Linked DNA regions of Homo sapiens: all the other regions are linked to region 3. The links are contacts of gene promoters, found by promoter capture Hi-C in blood cells and fetal thymus (Javierre and others, 2016). All regions are on one chromosome and are shown on one strand. The core of a region is centred on a gene start or on the middle of the fragment in contact, and the rest is flanking DNA. Distances in the headings are between cores, read along the strand shown.

Evidence for each region. The method cuts DNA at HindIII sites, captures the fragments that hold promoters and counts their contacts. A CHiCAGO score of 5 or more calls a contact.
Region 1: a fragment that was not itself captured here is called in contact with the fragment with the promoter of MGST1 in region 3 in 1 of 17 cell types (monocytes); the score reaches 5.0 in monocytes.
Region 2: a contact is called between a fragment that was not itself captured here and the fragment with the promoter of MGST1 in region 3, in 2 of 17 cell types (M1 macrophages and M2 macrophages). The highest score is 5.8, in M1 macrophages.

Annotation. Positions count from the first base shown.
Region 1 is chr12:16,145,735-16,149,312 of GRCh38, reverse strand. The region is part of intron 1 of LOC101928362 (a long non-coding RNA gene); the gene reads right to left. Among named protein-coding and RNA genes, the nearest start is that of SLC15A5, 130 kb to the left of the region's middle. The HindIII fragment of the contact is 692 bases long and covers 1,430-2,121 here.
Region 2 is chr12:16,118,942-16,122,141 of GRCh38, reverse strand. All of the region lies in intron 1 of LOC101928362 (a long non-coding RNA gene), which reads right to left. Among named protein-coding and RNA genes, the nearest start is that of SLC15A5, 160 kb to the left of the region's middle. The HindIII fragment of the contact is 1,092 bases long and covers 1,274-2,365 here.
Region 3 is chr12:16,345,878-16,349,072 of GRCh38, reverse strand. It overlaps MGST1 (microsomal glutathione S-transferase 1), which reads right to left and starts at 1,428. Exons shown (of 4, transcript NM_020300.5): 1 at 1,363-1,428. RefSeq lists enhancers at 1-478, 1,409-2,338. The HindIII fragment of the contact is 2,670 bases long and covers 1-2,100 here.

The DNA of each region.
Region 1 (3,578 bases), core at 526-3,025, 200 kb after region 3:
GCTGGTTAAACCAACTCTTGTCTATTCTGCACCTATAATCACAAAGCTAAACAAGGTTGGAAAAAAATATTCACTTCTTCTGAGTGTCTCACTTTAAATCCATAATCAGGAATATCAAGCAGCTCTTCTACATATGCTGAATTCATTCACTCCTCTTGTTCTAGACCACAATTTCACAACTTCTCATCTCTTCTCAAACCTCCAGTTCCTCTTTCCTGACCCTCTCTTAGCTGAGGACCCTGCTTCCTATGTGGTTGATAAAGTAGAAGCCATCAGAAAAGAATGTCCACACATTTCCACTGCTGTGTCTATCAACTTACTTGCATCTATACTCATTTTCCCTACCTTCCTTCATGGCAATGGATGAAGCGTGTTCCTATTTAAGATCAAGATCAATGCTCGAATACTAGATTCCATTGCTTAGGGTCATTCCAGTGATTATCACTCCCTCTTACACATTCTTTCTGTACTGGATTATCCCTATGAATATGTAACCTGTTTTAATATCTCTCATATTAAAAGAATCTTTCATGTTCCCATAGTTTCCTTCAAGTTACTACTCCACTTCACTACTTCCCTTTATCTTTAAACTTCTCCAAAATTTGGTCATGTTTGGTCTTTACTTTGTCCAGTCCCATTCTCTCTTCAACTCACTCCATCCAATGTAACAACTCGGTCAAGGTCACCAGTTAGGCTCCACATTGCTGGTTGATTGTCAGTTTCAACTTCATCGAAATACCAATATTTGACCTAGTCTGCCACTTTCGCCTTCCTGAAATACCTTCTTCTCTTGTATTTAGGGAAACTTTATCTCTTAATTCTCCCCCTACCTCCCTGGCTGCCCTGTCAATAGTCTGTATTGGTTTCTCCCAATCTCCTTGGCTTCTAAACACTGGAGTGCACTAAAGCTCAGTTCTTAGAGCTCTTTGCTTTTTTCAGCTTCACTCACTCTCTAGGTGGTATTACAGATGCATGGCTTTAAATACCATCGACACACTGATGGCCCCAGAAATGTATATCTTCAATAATATTCTTGAACTCCAAACTTAAATATCCCCACATGACCTGCTTACTTAGATGTCTAATCAGTTCAAAATCTAACTCTTTATTTTCCCCATCTCAATCCTGCCCTTCCTCTAATTTTCCCTCTCAGTACATGTCCCTACTCAGGTACACAAGCCAAAAATCTTAGAGTCACCTTCTCTCATACCCTCCAATCAATTACTAAATTCTACTAGCTTTCAAAATATATCTGAAATCCAACTCCTTCTCAACACATTTACTACTACTACTCTACAAAGACATGATCATTGCATACCTTGATGATTGAAGCAGCCTCCTAACTAGGGTCCCTACTTTTAGACTGTCTCCCATAACACAGGCTGTTGACTAACACTCTCACTTTTTTCATAATAATACAACTGAAGCTTTGTACAAGGCTGCTTACCTACCCTAGAGCTCCCAGATTCCCTTTCAGTTAGATGTGGCTTTGTTTTCACCATTAAATATGAGCATAACATAAATGTGCCTACTTCTAGACCTACCTCCTTCATAATCTCCTCTTTACAAAATGGACATACCTGAGATATAGTTTTAATCTTGCAAATGAAGACAATACCCCATGAGGTAATAAGAAAATAACACAGAAAGAATCTGAGTCCCTGATTTATTTATATGGAAGAGAGCTACCTATCAACCTGAAATTCAGATGATTATGTAAGCTAGGAAAAATCTTCCATCTTGTTTTAAGCATTGTATTTTATAGTCTCTTTATTTAGCGCTATCTTTAACCTAGTACAGAAAGAACTACCATATATGGAGCGCTACCATTATAACACCTAAAATGTGGCATTGGTTTATCAGAAAGGCAATTGGAGATGAGAAAACCACAAATGCTTGGTATATCCTGGCAAAACGTTTTGTAAACTATCGCATCAAACAATTGGGAAGGGAGATCACATGCCTCCTGAAGTAGCAGGTCTATGAAATGTCTAGAAAGAACAGATCCTTATTGCTTGCAAGTTATAACAAAGAAGTGATGAGCTCAGTTGAGAATTAGCCTGTTAGCAGGCAGAAATGGAAAAGAATAGAAAGGATCAGGGTCTGAAGGCTGAAAAAGCTTTCTGATCACAGAACCCAAACTTTAAGGTTCTTATCTTGACTTCTTATCCAAGTCTATTGTTTCAGAGAGCTGCTAAGGTAGCATATGGGTTGGCAGCAGGGGCAGTGATGGGTAGCAAGGCAGAATTACATAAAACAAATGAAAACACTATGGCTAAAGGAAAACAACCTTGGATTTGGCTACAGCCAAATATGACTGAGAATGAATACAGCAGAAACGTATTATGTTTTTGAGAGTACTAAGAAATGTATTTCCAAAGGAACCAAAGCCTGGTCTGCAAAACACCTGTGACTGAGGTTTAAAACAAACATGGTATCACCAAATTTGCACAAGCAAGAAGCAGGCTGCAAAAGTGACACAGTCCCTAAAGAGGGACACTTTGGATATTTTCCAGGAAGATAATAGAGAGGAAATTCCTTTGAGAAAGCAGAACCAGGGTTAAATCAAGTAAATTCAACTGCCAGATTAGGGCATTTAAGCAATTCCTACACAGCAGGACCCATCACTACATAAACCATTGACTGTTGTTTGTTCATTTGTTTGTTTCCAGTTGAGAGTTTTTAATATGGTTATCCTGTCTCTAGTCCATGATTGTATATAGGGTTTGTTTGTTGCATTGTGAGTTTGCAAACACCTTGTCTTTTAGTTTTTGTATCCTAGGAGTACATCCAGATTTGGTGGAGAAAATTGTTCATCACCCAGAGACTCTGGGCTGTGATCTAAATTCAAAAATTGGTGGGACTTAGGGTTTTCTTTTTTGAAGAGGGATTATATGTATTTTTACATGAAAAGAAAGGTCCACAGATATTTGATGGCCAAAGGATCAGGCTGAAGTAAAAGTAATTAGTTGTCCAATATAATCTGTTCTCCCCTTCTCCCATAGTAATACAATTGGAGCCTGATACATGACTAGCCATCTTTACTGCATTTCCCTGTGTCCCTGCCCCACTCATGTGACAAGGTTCATGACAATGGAGTACGAAACACTACTGAGGCAGACCTTTTAAGAGACTGGGATTGCTCCTTTATATGCATTTTCTTCTTCTCATCAGTCTGGTGCAACACAGGAATATAGCTTTGGCAATGCAGATGATGACAATACTGTAAACTTGATAAACAAGATGGAAAAACCTGAGCCCCTGAATAATTGAATGGAGCAGAATTGTCCACCAGCCTAGAACTTAGATTATTCTATGAGAGAGAAATCAACCTTTATCTTATATATGGGGGTAGCTTTGTTATAGCAGTTTAGTCTGCTAGAGCTGCCATAACAACACATCACACACCGGGTAGCTTCAACAGCAGAAATTTATTTTCTCACTGTTATGGAAGTCAGAAGTCCAAGATCAGGGTGCTGTCAGGTTTGGTTTCTGGCAAGCCTCTCTTTCTGGCTCGCAGACGGCTACACTCTTGCTTTGTCCTCACATGGCCTTTTCTCTGTATCCATGTGTAATCA
Region 2 (3,200 bases), core at 570-3,069, 230 kb after region 3:
GCAACAAGGCACCATCTTGGAAGTTGAGAAAGCCAGCCCTCACCAGACAGTGCCTTGATCCTAGACTTCCCAGCCTCTAGAGCTGCCAGAAATACATTTCTGTTCTTTGTAAATTACCCGGTACCAGGCATTTTGTTATAACAGCCTAAATGGACTAAGACAACCGTGCTGGGGAAGCACTGGTGTGTGTCAGAGGAAGGAGACTGTAGGCAAACGCCTTCATTGTGGTTTCTGTGAGAAGGAAAGGACAAGGCCAGCAAGCAGGCTAAGGACTAGCTACTTTGAAAAAATTCAGCAGGCTGGGAAATAGGGGTAAACTCTGGTTGCCTAATATCCTGACCCTGGGACAATTAGAGCAGGTATAGTGGCCCACAGTGTGAGAGCCCAATCAAGCAGATGCTTGGGGTGCAGACTTAATGGAATGCTCAAGAAGGGGAACTGACCAGCCTCTCGTCAGTGACTCAAAACTAGATCAAGAAAGCATTTTAAAAAACTGTTTCACATGCACATGTATAACTCAGGAATAGGATTTTACAAATTATTTAATAAAGTTGTAATTACTGATTATAACAATTAAGTGGCCAAGAAAGTTTTTCTCAAAAGACAATAAGTGGAGCAGACCATGTACACTCCCAGCAACTTCATCCTCTCTACTTAGCGAAGATTTAATTAATTACCGACCAAAACAATGAAAGGGAAAGTTAGGCTCCCCCTGTACCTCTTCTTGACCTGATTTGGAAACTATTAGGTGTGGAACTGATTTAACTTGATTTAAAAAGGCCTTGAAATGCCTCACAGAAAAGTATATATACTAGGGAATAAATGATAGATGAGGAAATCACAATGAAGGGAAAATGAAGAGATAGAGAGAGATGCATCTCTGTTCTCCAGATAAATAACTATATAAAAGCTCATGTCTTTAGGGATACTATAAGATTTGTTGACATAAGCCACAAATGTGACTCCCTAGTGATCAAATCAAAGAGATAATCATTATTAGTTTCAAGAGTCACAAAATACCTATCAGAAAATAAACACATCTAGTTGTTCAGAAAAAAAAAAAAAAAATCTACCTTCTCTAGAAACTGGAAACCTGAGGAGAATCCATTCTAGATTCTTGGAGCTGAAAACCATCTGTGTAGTGGAAACCACAGCTCACATTTTAGCAGGAGGTTTTCTAGTCCCCATGTTAGCTAACAGATTCTTTTCACCTTAGGATTTCCCTTCATAGCAATGTACTGGAGCCAATGGTACAGTTGTTGTCACCCAAGCTTATTGTCTGTCAGCCTCACCAGACTTCCCAGGTGGGGAGCCAGGCCCGGGAAGGCAGGTGCACGAATGCAATCACTAACTAGCAGAAATACATCTCAACTGCCAACACTGCCTGCAGCACCGGGGAATTCCTCTTGCAATACATGCACCATACCTAACCCTCTCTATCTTCCCCACATTGTGGACACAGAAAATGGTCTCTATATCACTTCTGGATGCTAACAGGCATCTTATCACTGAACAAATGATATTATAGCCCAAAATTAGAAAGGGAGAAATCCTGTTTATCCATTTCAAATCACATATTTGCACTCAATAAAATTAAATGCTTCTATTATCCCAACAGCAATGATCACAAAATAGCAAATTCCGTGGGGGAGGAGAGGTGTGTATTACACTTTCCAAGAAGAAACACATTCTTATAACCAATTAAACTCATTGCAGTTGAATAGTCTAACAATTCGCACCAACACATATTTCAAGTTACCACTTCAGAACAATTTGTTTACAATTATCAGGGTTACAAATGGCCTTCCAAATCAGCTCCTGGGGAGACCTGACAAAGTTTTCTGTCAAGTATATACTGGCTCAGCAGGGCAATTTCCAATCTGTCCCTAGAACTCTACAGGAAGTCAATTTCCAAGTTGCAACAAGTATCTGACCTATACATGCCTGTCATGTGATGTGTGAGCTGTCACTTCCACACTGCAACACCTACTCCACCTACTCTAAGGCTACTTACTGTAACTCTCGTTTCCCCCAGTTGTGAAATTTTTTTAAAGGCACTTATTGATCTCTGATAAATTGGTTAAAAAAATCCCCGCACCCCTCTGCAAAGCATACAAACAAAAAAGCCATCTATTTCTTCAGGCTTGACATTACACAGAATTTTTTTCAGAATGGCTACAATCCTCCCTTTATTTCCACTACGCCTAATTTTTTTGTTTGTTTGTTTCACAACCATTCATATTTGGTGAGTGCTTATTATTGCTGAGTACTGCCTTAAGTGCTTTGTTCCACATGTATTATGTCGTTTTATGACCAGGACAATCCTATGAAGTCATTCCACTGTACAGATAAGGAAACTGAAGCTTGAATGAGCTGAATAATTCATCCAAGGTAACCAAATAAGACAAAGACCCAGTGTTCAAACTCCAGTCTGTCTAAACACAGAACTGACATCTTTAATCATTAAGCACCTTAACAATTATGCTATTACTATTACTTTTATAGATGTATGATTTGATTTGCTGCTTTAATCAAATGTCTGTGTATGCATAAGTATCCACACATGTATACATACTGTATTCCAAGTACATCTTGAATTAAATAAACTTTTGAAGACCCACCAAGGAACTTTGCAAACCTGCTTGTTTTAATTTTTAAAATAAGGTGTATTGGATGTTTCATTTTAAGTTAATATAGACTCATTAGAGAAATTTGAGGATGTGAACAAAAGAAAAAAATCATCCAAATTCTCATGCTCAAAAACTAGTATTTTCTTAACCATAGATTATAATATTTTGGTTAGAAAACATTCTATGGGAATATATATTTTAAATTTTAAAGAACTGATTTTAAAATATTTTTGACATAAAGATTAGCAGACTTAGTAGTCACACAGACATTGGTTCAAATCCCAGCTCTAGCACTTCAAAAGCTATTTGACCTCCTGAGCCAGGGTTTCCTTCTATGTGAAATGAGAATGATAATTATTCCTACCCCACCTGGATGTTGTAAAAATTGAATGAGACAATATATAAGAGAATCTTGGCAAATACTTAGTGTTCAAAAGAAGATGGTGGCAGTGGACATGATATACATACATATTTTATCTCTCTGAATCCCTGCATTAAAGCAGACAAAGTAATCAGATAGCAAACCAAAACTCCATGGCTAACATTTACAATGAAATTAGAGGACTACAT
Region 3 (3,195 bases), core at 179-2,678:
CCTGAAGGCATCGTGGTGGCTGCAGACTCAGCCCACTATGTGGTCTCATGCAAAGTGGGGTTCAGAGCCCAGAGGCTGCAGGTGAAATGCTGGTGCCTCTCGGGAGAGTGGTGGGGTAAGGCCTTTCTCTGTGCTGACCTGACCTCCTTTTCCAATCTCAGGGATTCATAGACACCACTCTAAAACAAAGCGGTAGAAAAATTTTACTCGTCTGCCAGAGAGGGTAATATCCAAATTTGGACTGATTTGCCTTTTTTTTTTTTTTTTTTTTAATTACCAAAGATAATCGCACACATAGCCCTCTTATTTTGGAAACAGCAGAGGACAACAAAGTCCAGTACTATCCTAAGGCCAAGAAAAGCATATGCAAAAGGTAGGTGTAGGCTGGGACTCACAGCAGGCTGGGACCCCAGGAAAACTGGGCTTTAAGGATTGCTCACTGGAGGCCTGGGTGCTATACAGCAATGCTTGCGGGCACCCACTCAGCACTCACTGGGTAAGAAATTAGGGAGAAGAAATAGGGGAATATAAACGTGGAGCTCAGACTGCCACATTTCAAGAGAAGCAGAGAGACTAGAAGATTTACATGCACTCCTCTCTCCTCTGTCCCAAGCCAGCTAGAGCAATATATGACACCTTAATTCCCGAAAAAGAGAGTTCCCTTCTCCTTTTCTCCTTCCACATGGCTTCCTCCTCCAGACTGGGGAAGTGGGGCACAGGTGAGAACCGTCCCAAGGGGCTCACCCTTAGCTCTCTTGTCACTGGCTATAATATCACACAAAAATATTATCATCTAACCCACATCCTCTTGTTTCGATAGCTAGCATTATTAGCAGTAGTATTATTTAGTATTATTTTAAAACTTGCTGATGTTTCTCCTATCAAAGTGAACTCAGAAGAGCAAATCCTGCCTTACAATAGGCATAAAGGCCACTATGCCCATGAAACCTGAGACATCGCAGGCTTTTGCACTCTTGGGGAGAACAGCAGTCGTTCAAACTACAGGCATTTCCTCCATTACTACACGTGCCTTTTCCTCCTTCCCCAGAGTTCAAGGGACCCTTTCAAACAGGAGGTTACTTTGACTTGAAAAGGCTAAGTTTGGAAATCATCACTCAAGCATGAAAAGACTCTCTCGTTTCATTCCTGGAGTTTGAGAAATGGGAAAACTTACCCGCACGGGGACAGAAATACAATTCCCTTTCAAAAGCGATCGATTGAAAAGCTAAGTTTAGCTGCTAAGTGGAGCCAAGCACTTCCAGCTGGCAGAGACCCCCCCAAGTCTTCCATCTGCCACCCACCCTGGCCCTCCCTGCCTGCCACCCTTTGCATGCGGTCCCCTTCTCCCCTCCCAGTACGCACGGTGAGGCCGAGGAGGAGGAAGCAGCAAGCCTGTCCCGCCGCCGGGTCGCGCGCAATGCAGGGACTGTGGCCGCGCGGGCCGGACGCAGGCACCGCCCCTCTCCAGTTAATCTCCTGTTAATTAGCCCTCCCACGTTTAAAGCCCGACCCCAACCTCGCCAAACCCCTCCTCTAAATCACCTGATTTACCCGCCCACAGTAACCATCGCCTGCTGATTCCCTTTGAGCCCTTCTATTTGGCGCCCTTAGAAACTCTGGTTCCTGAAATGCCAACTCCCCTAATCAGTGGGAAGGGGGACAGTAGCCATTGTCTAGGAACTCTGAATTCTCGAACATTTCAGGATCAGCAGAGTTTTGGAAGTTGTTTTTAAAAACTTCGCAGAAAGTTAAAATCTCCAGGGTAGAACTAATTAGCAGGCATTGACAATATTACCTTCCCTTAGACTTCACCTCCCCTGCGCTGGTGGCAAGGCCTCCTTAAAAGGCTGACAATGACAGAATGTAACCCTCAGTAAAGATCACTTACGGTGTTCCAAATTCATGATACCAGACAATTTGCTTTGTCACGATGTCCCCTCCTGTTCAGGGTCCAGAATGAAATTGGAGGCAATTGTACTGGATCAGCTCATTACACAATCAGCTTAGTGTGTTTTTTACAGGGAGGTTTAGAGGAACGTTTACGGAAGCCGTAGATATTTAGCCTACCATCACTATCTAGATTAGGGATACTTCCAAGCTTCCTAGTCCCCATAGTCCCCACAATATTTATGGATCTATCTTTCATGGGTTTATATGAGAAATGTTTAAGGATTTCTGTTTTCAATCTATATTATTTCTCTCCTAGTGCTATATCTCAGACACTCACCACCTGTTGCAAGGTCTACTTCCTTTTTTTGCTCTTAATTTACTCCTTTAGGCTTTAAAGGATATCCCTAGGACTAACTTTCTAGGATGTGATGGACAAGTTCATGTTCTATTAAAGAAAGAAATAACTACCAGTTTGCTCTAGGAACAGAAATTAATCCAAGGAAGGTCTGAGAATGATTTCTATATAAGCATAACAGTAGGAGTTTTGGAAAATCTAGCATCAGAAGGCATCTGTTCTTCACTTTTATGTCTGTATCTTTTCAAAACTCTACTTATTCACCTATCTTTGTAAAGTATACTAGAATCTGTCTGTAACATTAACTGGAATAGGATAGAATTTGAGATGACATAAATCTATTCTGAATTCTCTCCAAAGGAGTTTGGTATTATAAGAATTTAAGACTCTCTTCATTTATTATAAGGTGATACAGGCCAAATCTTATGGATAACATGGCAGAAAAAGGAAGAGGAGAGCTACTGTTTAGATAATTTGGTCTACAGAATGCTAGTTGAATGGTTCTAACATTTTTTTTTTTTTTTTTTTGAGACGGAGTCTGCCTGTGTAGCCCAGGCTGGAGTGCAGTGGCGCGATCTCAGCTCACTGCAAGCTCCGCCTCCCGAGTTCACACCGTTATCCTGCCTCAGCATCCCAAGTAGCTGGGATCACAGGCACCTGCCATCACGCCTGGCTAATTTTTTGTATTTTTAGTAGAGACGGGGTTTCTCTGTGTTAGCCAGGATGGTCTTGATCTCCTGACCTCGTGATCCACCTGCCTCAGCCTCCCAAAGTGTTGGGATTACAGGCGTGAGCCACTGCGTCCAGCTGGTTCTAACATTTTTTTAAAAAAGAAAGTAGCACTTGACTCATCTAATGCTCTAAATATAGAATGTGTTCAAACTATTAATTGATCAATGAATAAATACTGAGTTCCTACTATCACTAAATCACGAACAATTATTGCCTGT